3 separate regions of the Homo sapiens genome follow, and regions 2 and 3 are each linked to region 1. Evidence: promoter capture Hi-C in 16 types of primary human blood cells and fetal thymus (Javierre and others, 2016). All regions are on one chromosome and are shown on one strand. The core of a region is centred on a gene start or on the middle of the fragment in contact, and the rest is flanking DNA. Distances in the headings are between cores, read along the strand shown. Region 1 holds the start of KRTAP1-3 (keratin associated protein 1-3). Region 2 has its middle 9.4 kb from the start of KRT14. Region 3 holds the start of LINC00974 (long intergenic non-protein coding RNA 974).

What was found. Contacts are between HindIII fragments. The CHiCAGO score rates a contact against its expected background, and 5 or more counts as called.
Region 2: a contact is called between a fragment that was not itself captured here and the fragment with the promoter of KRTAP1-3 in region 1, in 7 of 17 cell types (naive CD8 T cells, total CD4 T cells, non-activated CD4 T cells and 4 more). The highest score is 11.1, in naive CD8 T cells.
Region 3: a fragment that was not itself captured here is called in contact with the fragment with the promoter of KRTAP1-3 in region 1 in 5 of 17 cell types (activated CD4 T cells, naive CD8 T cells, non-activated CD4 T cells and 2 more); the score reaches 8.3 in activated CD4 T cells.

The regions. Positions count from the first base shown.
Region 1 is chr17:41,031,891-41,036,986 of GRCh38, reverse strand. KRTAP1-3 (keratin associated protein 1-3) reads left to right here and starts at 2,113. Exons shown (of 1, transcript NM_030966.2): 1 at 2,113-3,103. The coding sequence starts at 2,166. The coding sequence ends at 2,669. The HindIII fragment of the contact is 12,344 bases long and covers 1-5,096 here.
Region 2 is chr17:41,593,742-41,598,837 of GRCh38, reverse strand. No RefSeq gene overlaps it. Among named protein-coding and RNA genes, the nearest start is that of KRT14, 9.4 kb to the right of the region's middle. The HindIII fragment of the contact is 1,482 bases long and covers 1,219-2,700 here.
Region 3 is chr17:41,553,308-41,558,403 of GRCh38, reverse strand. It overlaps LINC00974 (long intergenic non-protein coding RNA 974), which reads left to right and starts at 3,909. Exons shown (of 3, transcript NR_038442.1): 1 at 3,909-4,124. The HindIII fragment of the contact is 4,431 bases long and covers 27-4,457 here.

The DNA of each region.
Region 1 (5,096 bases), core at 864-3,363:
TGTAAAGTGAAATAAAATAAATTTCATTTTCTTAATTTACTTAGAGGAGGTAAGGGAATGTTCAGATTAGTCTTCGTTCTGTGGCACAGGAGTCAAATTCTCAAGTAAGTGTCATACCTTAAATTTTGCATTGAGGAAGATGTTGAAAATAGTGCCACAGTAGAAAAGCCCAGAAAGGGAGAACTGATATGCAACGCCACTGTCTCCAGTGCTCTTATCAATAATGTATTTCAGGTCCTCAGATATCTGAGCCTTTTGCAAAAGGAGATACATCTGTTTAGTATCAAAGATTCTGCTAAATTTAGATCTGAATTAAATAGCTCCCGAGATTGTTGTCATGACACACCCACGTATTTCAAGCATCCAACATAAAAAATATTAGCTAATCAAAGAATCTGTGATGTAGCTTTGCTTAAGAAGAAGCAAGGAATTCACAAAGAATCATATCTTTTAAACCAAATTTGATGTGGGATTTGAAAATATGTCTTAATTCTGACTCAGAAAGAGTTATGATGTAAACTCAAAGCTGTCATTTCTAGAGAAGCAGAACTACCACTTGGTGTTCTGGTTCAAAATCCAAGAGTAGCATCGTAACTTGCATTTCTCAGTAATGAACCCATACTCCATGGAGGCCTGGTCACCTTTTATTGCATCTAAACAAAACCTTTATATTCACCGTCATCAGCTGTCTCATTCAAATTATATAAACTTTCCAGTTCACTGGATTAGTCTCTAATATCTATAATAAACTGCATACAGCCGATCTAACACTCTGTAGTAAATCACATACTCCAGTATTAATATGTTAAAAACTATAATTTTATGCAGTTAAAAAATCTAAATCTATAGAATATCCTAAGATAAAAGATGAGACAAAGTCACAAGAAGGTTAACTTTTTTAGCACTTAAGATTTTCTTGAACTGTGCTTATTATGCTGTTAATAAATAAATAAAATCTCTAGGAATGGCTGTAGTAAACTGTGTTATTACTTACCCTAAGCTCTCCCTTCCTTCCTTTTACTCTCAAAAAAGTCCGTAAGAAAGGAAGCAAATTTTTACGGCTTGCTTTCACCATTGGAATTTCCTTAGAATGACTTTTTACATAAAAAAAGAAGAAAGGAAAGAAAGAAAGGAGAAAGAAGAAAAAGAAAGAAAGAAAGAAAGAAAGAAAGAAAGAAAGAAAGAAAGGAAGGAAGGAAGGAAGGAAGGAAGGAAGGAAGGAAGGAAAGAAAGAAAGAAAGGAAAGAAAGAAAGAAAGAGAAAGAAGGAAAGAAAGAAAGAAAGAAAGAAAGAAAGAAAGAAAGAAAGAAAGAAGAAAGGAGGGAAGGAAGGAAGGAAGGGAGAAAGACAGAGAGAAAGAGAGAAAGAATTGACTATAGTGTTTAAAGAGTTTAGTCTGGAATCAGAGGTTGTGGATTCAAATTTCAGATTCACTAGATACTAGTGTGAACTAGGGTAAGTTACTTCAACCTGTTGTGGCTCAGTTTTCTCACATGGTTGATGGGAGTGGCAGTGATACCTAGCCCATAGATTGCCGTGAAAATTCAGCAAATTGATACATGCGAAGTACTCAGAACTATTTAGGCACATAATCAGTGATGGGAAAATGTTATCAATAGCAATTAATGCAAATCTCCCAGGCCCAAGAAAGCATCCCTTTCTGGCCAGCTGAATATAGTCTTGCTTCACAGTCAAAGGGAAGATAAGAAAGTTAGAGAAGGAGCCACAGTTAAAATTGGAGGGAATTAAACTGTCATGTGAGACCCAATCACCCAGTTGTAAGGGTCAACACTGAGTAATATTGACAATCCTTAAAGGTGAGGCATCAGTCAATTATTCCTTGACCATGAGGAAATTTTAAGAAACATGAGGAGTTAGGGATCATATTCCTAATTAATGCCAATGACTTCTTGACCATGGTAAAGAAGCCTAATTGCAGACCAAATACAATCAACTTTCAAAGGCTCTCAGTAGGTTCAACAAATAATTCAGGGAGAGGCCAATTATCATTCAGAGACAAATTATCCAACACAAATAAGCAAGAGACTTCTGGAATTATGTAAACAGTAGCTGGCCCAGGCTTATAAAAGGCCCAATGTGGCAGCCATCACCAAAACTCAGAAACTCCTCCAAGCAACCCAGACTTCATACCAGCTCCCAACACCATGACCTGCTGCCAGACCAGCTTCTGTGGATATCCCAGCTGCTCCACCAGTGGGACATGCGGCTCCAGCTGCTGCCAGCCAAGCTGCTGTGAGACCAGCTGCTGCCAGCCAAGCTGCTGCCAGACCAGCTTCTGCGGATTTCCTAGCTTCTCAACTAGTGGGACCTGCAGCTCCAGTTGCTGCCAGCCAAGCTGCTGTGAGACCAGCTGCTGCCAGCCAAGCTGCTGCCAGACCAGCTCCTGCGGAACTGGCTGTGGCATTGGTGGTGGCATTGGCTATGGCCAGGAGGGCAGCAGTGGAGCTGTGAGCACCCGTATCAGGTGGTGCCGCCCAGACTGCCGTGTGGAGGGTACCTGCCTGCCCCCCTGCTGTGTGGTGAGCTGCACACCCCCAACCTGCTGCCAGCTGCACCACGCCGAGGCCTCCTGCTGCCGCCCATCCTACTGTGGACAGTCCTGCTGCCGCCCAGTCTGCTGCTGCTACTCCTGTGAGCCCACCTGCTAAAAGCCAGTTTGCTGATTTTCAACTTGAAATTTCCACTTTCAGTTCCATTCATGAACGAATTATTTCTTCAAGCACTTATGGACAACGAACAAATTCTTCAACCTTTCTTTGTCTTTCTTATGGGGGTTACCAAATATTTTGGCCTCAGAATTATCTGATTCCTTTCAATTCCAGAAAGACCTTACTCTTCTCTCTGAGGACGCCAAAATACAAATTTGACCCAAGAAATGAAAAAGCCGATTTACCTTGAAACTGAGCCTTTGCAAGCATTGAAGCCCACGCTCTGAGTCTCAGCGCCGACGAGACCATGGAAGAGCCATCTGTCCTTCTCAGGACACTCACTTCCTGTATCCCACCGTCCTGCAAATTGCACCCCCTATGAAAGAGGAATAATATACCAAGGTCTAATAAATTTTAACTATTGGTGCAACAAACATATCTTTTTTTTTTCATTGAGTGTACTCAGGATGTATATTTCATAGAATGTCATATGAAAAACTTTAATCTGCTTTTGATATCCCTTCTCTTCTAATACCACATTAGGAAATTTGTTATCCAGAGGTCCAGTGGAGGTTAATGACCATAAAAACATAGAGTAAGTGTAGTTATTTAGGGCCTCAGAAATGGCAAAGGCTCTGTTACCATAACTTAACCTTACACAGTGCTTTCACAACCAGGAAGTTACAGAAATCAAAATCTCTGGCTGGGTACGGTGGCTCACACCTGTAATCCCAGCATTTTGGGAGGCCAAGGTAGACAGATCACGAGGTCGGGAGTTTGAGATCAGCTTGGCCAACATGGTGAAACCCCATCTCTACTAAAAAAAATAAATTGCATTTCTATATACTAACCATGAAAAATCTGTAAGGAAAATTTTAAAAACAATTCCATCAAAAGAATAAAATACTTATGGCCGGGCATGGTGGCTCATGCCTGTAATCCCAGCACTTTGGTAAGCTGAGGTGGGCAGATCACCTGAGGTTAGGAGCTCAAGTCCAGCCTGGCCAATATAGTGAAACCCTGTCTCTACTAAAAATACAAAAATTAGCCAGGCATGTTCGTGGATGCCTGTGGTCCCAGCTACTGGGGAGGCTGAGGCATGAGAATTGCTTGAACCCAGGAGGTGGAGGTTACAGTGAGCCAAGATTGTGCCACTTCACTCCAGCCTGGGTGACAGAGTGAGACTCCATTTCAAATAATAATAATAATAATAAAATAAAGAATAAAATACTTAGGAACAAACTTAGCCTTGGAGGGGAAAGACTCGTACACCAGAAACTACAAAATGTTACTGAAAGAAATTAAAGAAGACACAAATAAATGAAAAGACATCCTGAGATCATGGATTATAGGATTTAATATTGTTAAGATGTCAATACTACCCAGAGAATCTACAGATTTAACGCAATCCCTATAAAAATCCCAATGATGTTTTTGCAGAAATTTTAAAAAAATCCATCCTAAAATACATATGAAATTAGAAGGGGTCCTATATAGCCAAAACAATCTTAAAAAAGAACAAAGTTGGTCTCACATTTTCCTGTTTCAAAATTTACTGTAAAGCTACAGTAATCATAACAGTGTGATACTGATATAAAGACAGATATATAAAGCAATGGAAAAGAACAGAGAGCCTAGAAATAAACCCTCAAATACACATATGGTTAAATGAGTTCATTTATTTATTTATTTGAATTGACAAAAATTATATGTATTTATTGTGTACAACACATTTTTTTGGAATATGTATACTTCGTACAATGGCTAAATCAAACTAATTAACATATGCATTACCTCACATAAGTTTTTTTGTAGTGAAAACACAAAATCTACTCTCTTAGCAATTTTCAGGACTGTAACATATTGTTATGAACTATAGTCTCTATGTTGTACAATAGATCTCTTGAATTTATTCCTCTTATCTAACTGAAATTTTGTAATCCTTTGACCAACATCTTCCCAACACACTCCACCACCACCCTACCCCCGGTAACCACCATTCTACTTTCTACTTCCATGAATTCAACTTTTTCTTTTTTTTGAGGTTTTTTTGTTTTTATTATACTTTAAGTTCTAGGGTACATGTGCACAACTTGCAGGTTTGTTGCATATGTATACATGTGCCATGTTGGTGTGCTGCACCCAATAACTTGTCATTTACATTAAGTTCCACTTGTAAGTGAGAAAGTGCAATATTAGTCTTTTTCTTTGTCTGACTTATTTCACTTAGTATAATGTTCTCAAGTTTAATCTGTTGCCCCAAATAGCAGGATTTCCTTCTTTTATGACCAATAATATTCCAGTGTGTGAGTGTGTGTGTGTGTATGTGTGTGTGTATCACATTTTCTTTATCCACTCATTTAATGATGGACATGGACACTTAGGTTGCTTCCATATCTTGGCTATTGTGAGTAATGCTGCAATGAA
Region 2 (5,096 bases), core at 710-3,209, 560 kb before region 1:
TCACCACCGCCACCACCACCACCACCACCACCACCACCATTACCACTACCACTATCCCTACCATCACCACCACAATCACCAGCACCACACCAATACCCCCCACCACCATCACCCCCACCATTAACACTACTACCATCACCACCACCACCACCAACACCCCCACCACCGAAATCACCACCTCCCCACCACCATCACCAACATTATCACTACCACTATCCTTACCATCACCACCACAATCACCAGCACCACACCAATACCCCCACCACCATCATCCCCACCATCACCACCCCCACAGCCCCACCACCACCATCACTACCATCACCACTACCACCATCCCTACCATCACCACCACAATCACCAGCACCACACCAATACGCCCCACCACCATCACCCCCACCATCACCACTCGCCCCTGCACCACCACCACCACCACCACTGAAATCACCACCCCCACCACCACTACCACCACCACCACCACCACTGAAATCACCACCCCCACCACCACTACCACCACCACCACCATCACCACCACCATCACCACTACCACCATCACTGCCATCACCACCATAATCACTGCCATCATTACCACCATCACCACCCCCACCCCCACTACCACCACCACATCATCACCACCATTACCACTACCACCATCACCACCATGACCACCACAATCACCACCATCATTACCACCATCTCCATCTCCATCACCACCACCACCACCACCACCACCACTACCTCCAGTACCTCCAACACCCCCAGCACCATCATTTCCTTTCCCCCAATCACTCCTCCAGTTCTTTGAAGGGGGTGTTGCTCATATGGGTTAAGTTAGATGGGGAGTAACCAAAGTCTTGGGACACACAGACATCACTCAAGCTGGGACAGTCAAAGGACAGATGCACACTGAGTGCTGCAGTAGAACAGTCCTCGCTAGATGCTGACAGAGAGAACAACCAACAGAACACTGATGAGATAATTGAGATAACGAGGCAGCACAGACTTGGATACCCCCATGGGGCTCCCATGTGGCTCCCTGGGAGGCAGACAGTGCCTGGTCTGCCTTGTGAAGGCTGCACAGCCTCTGGATGCTGCCTCTGCTCCTGTCCACCTAGGCTGTCTCCCTGACCGTGGGGGCCCACCAACTCTTCTTCCCCTTCCCTCACCAATATCCTCCCCCAATCTGGTTTTCCCTCTTTCACTTTGTTTTATCCAGAAGCTTTCCCTTTGTCCCTCCTAGTCTCTTGCTTATGGCCTAAACCTCGAGGCTCATTGGCACGCTGGAGCTGGCTCATGCTGGCTCTTGAGAGCTGGACATTAAAATTTCAGGAATTTTGCAAGGTGATTGTTAAATATGGCCCTCATCAAAAATTAAATTATACGAACTTAAAATTAAATGAATTATATTGAGAACAAAGGTAATGCATACTGAAAACTCATTCCTTCCAAATTATTTTACTACATTGTACTAATATCTGTGCTCTTGAGGTACTTATGACCATTTTATCCATATGGTGGACATGCTATAAGGCAGTGAGCTACTGCACGTCTCTTCCCAACCCTGTGTTAAGTGACTCCCTGTTGGTTGCTTGAAATTGGCCACAGTGGGGGTATTTACAACACGAAAAAAATAAATGTTATAAATTGGGGCTTGATTTATTGTTTTATTGATTGTCTTTTTTTTTTTTTTTTTAAGATGGAGTCTCACTTTGCCACCCAGGCTGGAGTGCAGTGCTGTGGTCATGGCTCACTGCAGCCTTGACCTGCTGGGGCTTAAGCAATCCTTCCACCTCAGTCTTCTGAGTTGCTGGGACTACTGGTGTATGCCTCCATGCCTGGCTAATTATTTTATTTATTTATTTTTGTAGAGATGGTATCTCACTATGTTGCCCAGGCTTGTCTTGAACTCCTGGGCTCAAGTGATCCTCCTATCTCAGCCTCCCAAAGCGCTGGAATTACAGGTGTGAGCCACCATGCCCAGCCCTGAATTGCCTCTTTTAGAAGCTAATTCAAGCTGAGTTTCCGTTGCTTGCAACCAAAATGTGCCCATCAATATATCCTGTTACCTAATTCTTGATTTATTTTTCTTCTATCCTTGCTGGATATTTTTAGTTTTATTATAAATATGTCTTTTATCATAAGCCATCCATGCCCTCTTTTGGAACTGGGAGACAGAAATGGTCATTTTTTTGCAAATATTGCACTGACAACCAGGATGGCCTCATTGAAACCTGAGAGGCTGCTTCCCCATCCCCTCATTCCAGCCACAGAATGTGGGCCCTGCTGGAAGCTCCCAGGCCTTCTCCCCTCACACCTAAACCATCCGCTGACTCTTCCTCATCAGTTTCCAGGCCTGCCCTATTCCCACAGCCTCCACCCTGGCCAGGCCCTTGCAGACTCACCAGCCCATCACCTGGCCGGCTGACCTCAGCAGCTCCCAGCTCCTGCAACAGGAGCTCCAGTAACATCCTGGACTCTTCTCTGTTCTCTGCCTCAAGGTCTTTGGCTGAACCTTGACACCTGTTCTCCATTTGCATCCCCCACTCCCTTTGGTCTAACTTGGGCTTAATTTAAGTGAACTTTTACCAAACACTTCCTCTGTGCCCAGTACCATGCTGGCCACCTGCGCTGACTTACCCACTCCTCTCAATAATCCTGCCAGGCTGAACTGGTTCTATTCCTATTTGATGGAAAACCAAAGCTTGGACGGCTGCAATGGCCTGTCCAAGGTCACATGGCTCGTCAGTGATGGAGCCAAGACTTGAAAGCTGGTCTTTCTGATCGGGAGGCCCTGCTCCTTCCTTGATCCCATGCGGTATCCCGTCTGGGGGAGGGAGGTGGGGTGCAAGATGCTGAATCTGTTCCCACATCTCTGACTGTGGGAAATGACTCTTTCTATCCATGAGGCTAGAACTACTCGGCGACCCCTTCCCTTCCTCTTTCCCTTTCCCTCTGTCCTGCCGACCAGAGCTCAGGACTCCTGACACAGACATTCCGACTCCCAGGTGCTGACTCTCCCCGCAACTCACCACTGTGCTGGAGTTCCCACAGCCACGCCCTCTCCCCACTCCACCCTCCAGGGTTCTTCCTTCTTTCAAAACCTGAGTCAAAGCGCACCCTTTCCAAGAAAACTTCTGTGTGCTAATCCACCCCACCTTGTGGCTCCTGTGCTCCTGGCTCCCCTCAGCCTATGGCACAGGGAAAACTCTGGGCTCTGCAACCCTCCTCCATCAGACTGGACAGCCCACGGGCAAGGGTTGTGTCTCCTGCATCAGACCAGAGTAACACTGAGGACTGACTATGTGAAAAACACTTTGTGGCCCCCTAAGGCACTATGGGGAGGTATAATCAAGGGTGGGGGCACAGATCACAGAGGCAGTGGGAGGTCTGAGAGATGGGGAGAAAGCCAGGTGACCTGAGCTGATGGGGTGGGGCTTCCTGGGAGAGGAGAGGTCTGAGCCAACAACATCCCTTACCTGGATATGGCAAATTCTCCCTACTGGTCCCCCACACCACGGCAAAGTATGTTCTGCATGGAGACCAGGGTGGCCTTTGTGAAACATCCGACAGCATCACTCACCAGCTTAGGACCCTTCAGTGGCTCCAGTGTCATCAGGATAAAGTCTGAGCTTCCCAGCACCTTTATCACCACCTGGCCTAAGGCTCTCAGTTTCATCGGGCAGGCCCAGCCTTGAGCTGTGAACTCTAACAATACATAACTGCTTGCAGTTTCCATCAGACCAGTCTTTCACACGTCTGCACTTTGCCTGGGTGCTTCCTTGGGCAAATGGGATGTCTATCCTCACTTCCGCTGCTTGCTCAGCATCTACTCATCTTCAAGGTTCAGATCAGTTAAGAGCTCCTCTAGGATGCTGGCCCCCTCTGCCCCCAGCTGGGCTGGCTGTCCTTTCTCAGTGCCCCACCATCCTTCACCCACCTGCCTACCCACCATCCACCCACCTCCTGTTCATCCCTCTATCCTTTTACCCATTATTATTCCCTTCCTTCCATTCATCCATTCATCTACTTCCCTGTCTGATCACTCCCCAGCCGTTCATCCCTCCACTTTCCCTCGTTCTTCTCTTCCTTCCACTCATCTATCCATCTGTCCACCTGCCATCCATCCATCCATCCATCCGTCTATATGTCCATCCATCCATCCATCCATCCATCCCTCTTCTACATTCCCTTACCCTCTTCCCTTTCCCTTCCTCCTGCTCTCCCTCCTCCCTCCCTCTGTCCTCCTTCTGTCCTCCCTCCTCTTACTCTCCATCCTCCCTCCCTCTGTGCTTCCTTCCTTCATTGAGCACCTACTTTGTGCCACACAGTCTGCAGGAATCTGCATAAACCATATGTGGAACTGAGGCTTGGCCTTAAAGAACATGAGGGGTTTGGGTAGGAAGAGAGGACATATGTGGAAATTCAGGCAGAGATTGGAAATGGATGGAGATGTAGGGACCAGCAAGGGGACAGGCCTGTTGGGGAGGGGACCCAGTTTACAGTGGGGTCTCATGAGTGATGGGCTGGAGCATTTAAGCTGCATTTTGCCTGAACTGGGAGCTAGCGGCAGGGTTGTAAACTAATCTATTCCTTGCCTTTGGCCACCTGACTGTCTGCATTTTTAACAACCTGAACATGACTCTGGGGTGCAGGCACAGCCCTTTTCACCCCAGGCATATTCTTACCCTGCCTAGCTCAGAACCCTGGGTGACACTTCTGCTGTGTGACCTTGGACATGTTCCTTCCCCTGTCTGGGACTCACATTTTCTATCTGTAAAGTTAAGAGCCTGGTCTAGAGGCTGTTTTTGGCTCTGACTTTTGGGGGCTTTCTAGCAGCAGAGGACCTGTCATTAAAAAGTGAGGCTTGCAGCCAGCTGAGCTGGGGTGGAACCCTGACTGAGCAGGTGGCTTGCTGTGGGCCTTGGGGGAACTCCTCCACCTCTGAGCTTTCTTATTCTATGATATGGGCTGGCCAAGCTCTGTTGTCAGCCTTGTGGCACAGCTTGGAGGCTCAGACAAGGACACAGACACTGAAATGCTGGCTCAGCCCATCTCTTGTGTCAGCCCAGATGGGCAGGCTGGCCTGGGAAATCAGCAGG
Region 3 (5,096 bases), core at 993-3,492, 520 kb before region 1:
GGTGTGTAAATCTTTTTCTCTAAGCTTTGTCTTTGTAATTGGCCTCTTCCCCCAGGTATGCTGGCATCTGGCTTATTTATAATTCTGAAAGCAATGAAGGGTGGTAGGGTAGAGTGTGAAGATAATTTGGAGTTTGGAGTCTATTAAATTCTCTAATACCTTCCTGTTCCAATTCTGTGGGTGTCCCTCTTTCCTGATCAGTGCTCTAACTTTTATATAAGAGACTTGGCAAGGTTGTGATTTCAACTTGGAGAAGTCAATTTTGAGTTTATTAACTACTTCAGCATTGTAGCTACAAGAAATGAGATATTTTTAAAGAATAATTGTGGACAGTCCCTGGTCCTCTGACTGTCTACAGAATCAGGAACTTAGAACTTCAAGTGTATTACTCCTTCTCTAAGCTCTTCAGTACAGTTAAAAGAAACAAGCCCACTCCAATTTAATTCACATGCTGTGGGCTTCTAGAAGCTCATTTTAATCATAGCCAGATTTTCACTGGCCCATCTAGGCCAGATAACCAAAGTGATTCTCATGTCATTCATTCAACAAACTTCACTGGATAAATATGTATCAAGCTCCTTTTATGCCAGGCACTGTCCTAGGTGCTTGGGATATATCAATGAACAAAAGAGACAAAGATTTCTGCCTCTATAGAGCTTGCATTATAGGTAAGGGTTGGGCAAGAGCAACAAATGTAATAAAGAAATAAATAATACTATACTTGAAGGTGGTAAGTGCGCAAAGAAGTAGGGAATATCAAGGGAGATTGGAGTGCTATGGCAGGGTGGGGAGGAGAGCAATGTTAAATAGGATGGCCAAGGTTGGGTTCACTGAGAAGGTAAAACATAAGCAATGACTTTGCGATGGAATAGTTGCCCTGACGCCCTTCATGGGCGGGAACTGGAGCACTTTGTTTTTTGTTTTTGTTTTGTTTTTTTTTGAGACTGAGTCTCGCCCTGTTGCCCAGGCTGGAGTGCAGTGGTGAGATTTCAGGTCACTGCAACCTCCGTCTCCCGGGTTCAAGTGATTCTCCTGCCTCAGCCTCCCGAGTCGCTGGGATTACAGGCACGGGCCACCAAGCCCGTCTAATTTTGTATTTTTAGTAGAGATGGGGTTTCTTATGTTGGGATTACAGGCACACACCATCACGCCCAGCTAAGGAGCACTTTGTTTCACTCAGCCTGTTGCTGGCCACTCCTTGTGGGAGTGAGTGTGTGAGCAAGTGTGGGAACCGGAGCAAATGAACGCTGGAACCAGCCGGTTGCTCCTCTCTGGCAGGAGCAGGCTCTGTTCGGGCCCTGCAGCAGCGTCCCTATTCTTTCAGCTGTGCTGTCAGGGGATGGCCAAATACCAACCAGTTCAATGGAGGTTCAGGGTGGCAGCCCCTGCCTTCTTGGCACCCAGGTTCTTGTCTGGCGTCCAGGAAGAAGAATCAGGTCACATAAACTGTTTGAAAGGTGACGAATGCAAAATACTTTACTGGGTGTTGGGTGGCTCTCAGTGGAAAGGGAGGATGGAAAGGTGATGGGATGGTGATCTTTCCCTGAAGCCCCACCGTCTCCGGCAGGGCCCCTCTCCAAAGCTGCACCATCTGAAGTTAGCCAGATCTATCCACAGTCTCCGATGCTCAGTTGCTTTTCTGCTCGCCGCTCAGCTGCTTATATCCTCAGTGCTCAGCCGCTTGTGTTGCTCTGCCAGCTGAAGTCTTTTATGGGCACAGCATGTGGGCAGGCAGGCCAAAAAGGTAACATTTTTGGGGAAAATGGGGTCCTTTAGGGCCGAGGTTCCAGGCTTAAGGGTAGGGTTTAGCCAGGAGCCCAGCCCTTCTGTATCAACTTGACGGAGTGAGGGAGGCAGTCAAGCGTGTGTGGGGACCACTCCAGGCACAGCAGCTAGTGCTGATGATCATCCTAACACACAGTGCCTTGAGCAGAGGAGTGACAGGCCACTTGATGAGAGGCTGCGAGGCTAGGAGCAGAAACAGAGAGCCCAGTGTGCAGGGAGGTGAAGAGCCCCTGGCACTCAGAGTGAAGACGGTCAGAGGTGGCTGGATTCTGAGCATCATCTGAAGAAAGCACTGCCAGGAGTTCTTGAAGGACTGCATATTGTAAAAGAAAGAAGTCAAGGAGGTCTCTGAGTCTTTTGTCTGAGCAACTGGATGATAGGAGTTGTGGGATGGAAGTTGGCTGGTATGAAAGATGGGGAGTCAGTTTCAGACATGCTAAATTTACATTGTCTTTTGGACACCCAAACGGAGATCTTTTAGAAGTCTCATGCCAGTAATCACACTTGTTACTAAATTCTGTAGCCATCAGGGTTTTTGCCTGCAAAGATCAGAAGCCACACTCTGAAGCCAGTTTGTTAAAGGATGTTAGGTAAGCCATAGACTCTCCAGGAAGAACTCGCAGGGAACAGGTTTGAAGGCAGCACAGCCCGGAGCAAGCCCACCCTTGCCACTATCTGCAGGTGCAGATTCAGTAGCCCATTCCACTTGGCGCTATCACCAAACTTGTGGCGCTGCTGCTTCTAGAAACTGGAGGTCTGCAGTTATTCCTTCCAGCATGGATTCCACCAGGTGCCTCCTTTTTTAGGACATTAGCTCCCAGCTTACAGGCTTCTGTGATGTGTGTGACTGATCATGTGTCTGTGCTCCAGCTGCAAGGGAGGCTGGAAGGCTAATTTCTGGCTTCTATAGCCAGGAGGCACAGACACTAGAGGGAGAATTCCTTTACAAAGGAGCTGGGCGACTAAGTGTAAGAACAATTGTCCACAAGGAAGGAGCAAGGACTAACACTGATTGCGCACTTAATAATGTTCCAGGCACTTCGCTAAGCATTTTATATAAGATAAGGGAATAAACCCTGTATCTAATCTTCACAGCAATCTCATGATGCTGTCCTTGTTTTCATTTTACACATGAGGAAACATTTTTAGCGAGATTAAATGACTTGCTGAAAAGGTCACACAGCTCCTAAGCAGTGGAGACAGGAACTGAATCTAGGAAGTCTGATCCAAGGACACTGGGATTATGAAGCCCATTTTATAGATGAGGAAATTCTAAGTTAGAGAGGTTAAGTAACTTGTCCAAGGTCACATAGCTTGTAAATGATCAAGCAAAGATATAATTCCAGTTTGGCCTGGCTCCAAAGCTGGTGCTCTGTTTCCTGTTCTCTATGGCCTTGAGCAATTATTGAGCCCCAAAAGAATACAGAGGCTAGCAAATCCCATAAGCAGAGGCTTGTCAAAAATACCTTATGTGGGCTGGGTGTGGCGGCTCATGTCTGTATTCCCAGCACTTTGAGAGGCTGAGGTAGGAGGATCACTTGAAGCCAGAAATTTGAGATCAGCCTGGGCAACAGAGCAAGACCCCGCATCTACCAAAAAAAGAAAAAAATATTGGACAGGCATGGTGGCATGCACCTGTTGTCCTAATTACTGGGTTACTTGGGAGGCTGAGGTGGGAGGATCACTTGAGCCCAGAAGTTTGAGGCTGCTGTGAACCATGATCATACCACTGTACTCCAGCCAGGGCAACAGAATGAGACTGTCTCTAAATTAAAAAAAAAAAAAGAAAAAGAAAAGAAAAAAAAAGGAAAGAAAAAAGGCTTACGTGGGAAGCAATGACTGTATGAAGAGCTGAGAATAAGACGAGTGACCTGGCACAGGTAGATTCTTTCCTGGGATCTCAGATTCCCCCTAGAAGGCCCTGGGTCTGTGCTTGTCAAAGGAAGGAATGGGTGAATGAGCAAACGGTGCAGGGAGGAGGATGACAGAGGAGGGTCTCTATTATTATTCATATCATTCTAACAGTCCGCAAATATCTACCCAAATCTCTAGAGCTTTGATCTCGAGTCCCCGCCCCTTGGAGTGTCCTGCTTGGTTGTGGAGGCTGCTGCTGCTGCTGCAGCCTCTTGGCTTCAGGCTCTGAAGCACTCCCCATCTCAGGCCCAAACAGGAATAAAATCAGTTCCTTTCTCTGTTCCTCTTACTAGACTGAGATCCACTGGGATTGTCTGAGGGAATTCTTGTGAAACCAGAAAGAAAGTTCAAGAAATGATGCAACAACAACAAAATAAAACCCAGGAGAAATAGTACGACAAGAAGTTAAAAGATCGTGAGGAGAGGTAAGGCCTGGTGGGTCCTCACCTGCCTGTTTTTGAAAATCTCGTATTGGAGTTCCTGTCTATTTTCATCCCCTCTTCAAGTCATTCATTCATTCATTCATTCATTCATTCATTCAACAGATCTTCACTGGGTGCCTATTCTGTGGCAGGGATTGGGAATAGATGGAATTGTGAGCAGAACAGACAAGGTCTCTGCCCCCATGGGCTCACAGTCTGGTGCCAGAGGCAGACAGGCAGACAGGCCAGTGCTGAGTGAGTGCCATCGGTGATGAGAGGGATGGGCTGTACTTTCAGATGGGGTCTCCTGAGCTGGCCATGGTGGCTAGGGAAGCTTCCTAGGATAGGCATGGGCCAGGAAGCTTCCATATGTCATTTTGTTGATTTCTCACAACTGTGTGAGGTTGCTCTTGTTGCTTCCATTTACAGATGAGGAAACTGAGGCTCAGAGAAGAAAAGTTCCTTGCCCAAGTCACCCACACCAGTGTTGATCTGGCTCCCTACCTCCTGCTCTTAGCACGACCTATCTGGCCTCTAACAATTTTTAACACTTTTTAAGATTGCGCTGTGGCCTCAATTTTCTCCAAGAGTTACCTTGATCTCTCCCCAGGAAGATCAAAGCTGTCGGAGAACACATGAGTATCAGAAGCAGAGTGTGGGTGCAGAGGGGTCCTGGGTGAATAACCCTGCAAGGACAGACAGTCCCTAAGGACGGCTCTGCACCCACATGCTGGGTGTGACACTCATGTGTCCTCCGATGGCTTTGATATTCCTGAGCTTTCTTCCCACCCGGGAATCCCTCAGTCTGTCTTTGCTGCTACCAGCACCCTCAGCCTCAGAGACATGCCATCCTCACCCGAACTCAGGCCAAACTCTCAAACATGATTCCTTTCATCTCTTGCCCTCACCATGACTCAGTCATGTTGGGGTTGTCAGAAGGAGCATTTGTCAAGATGGAGGGAAACCTCAGGGAAG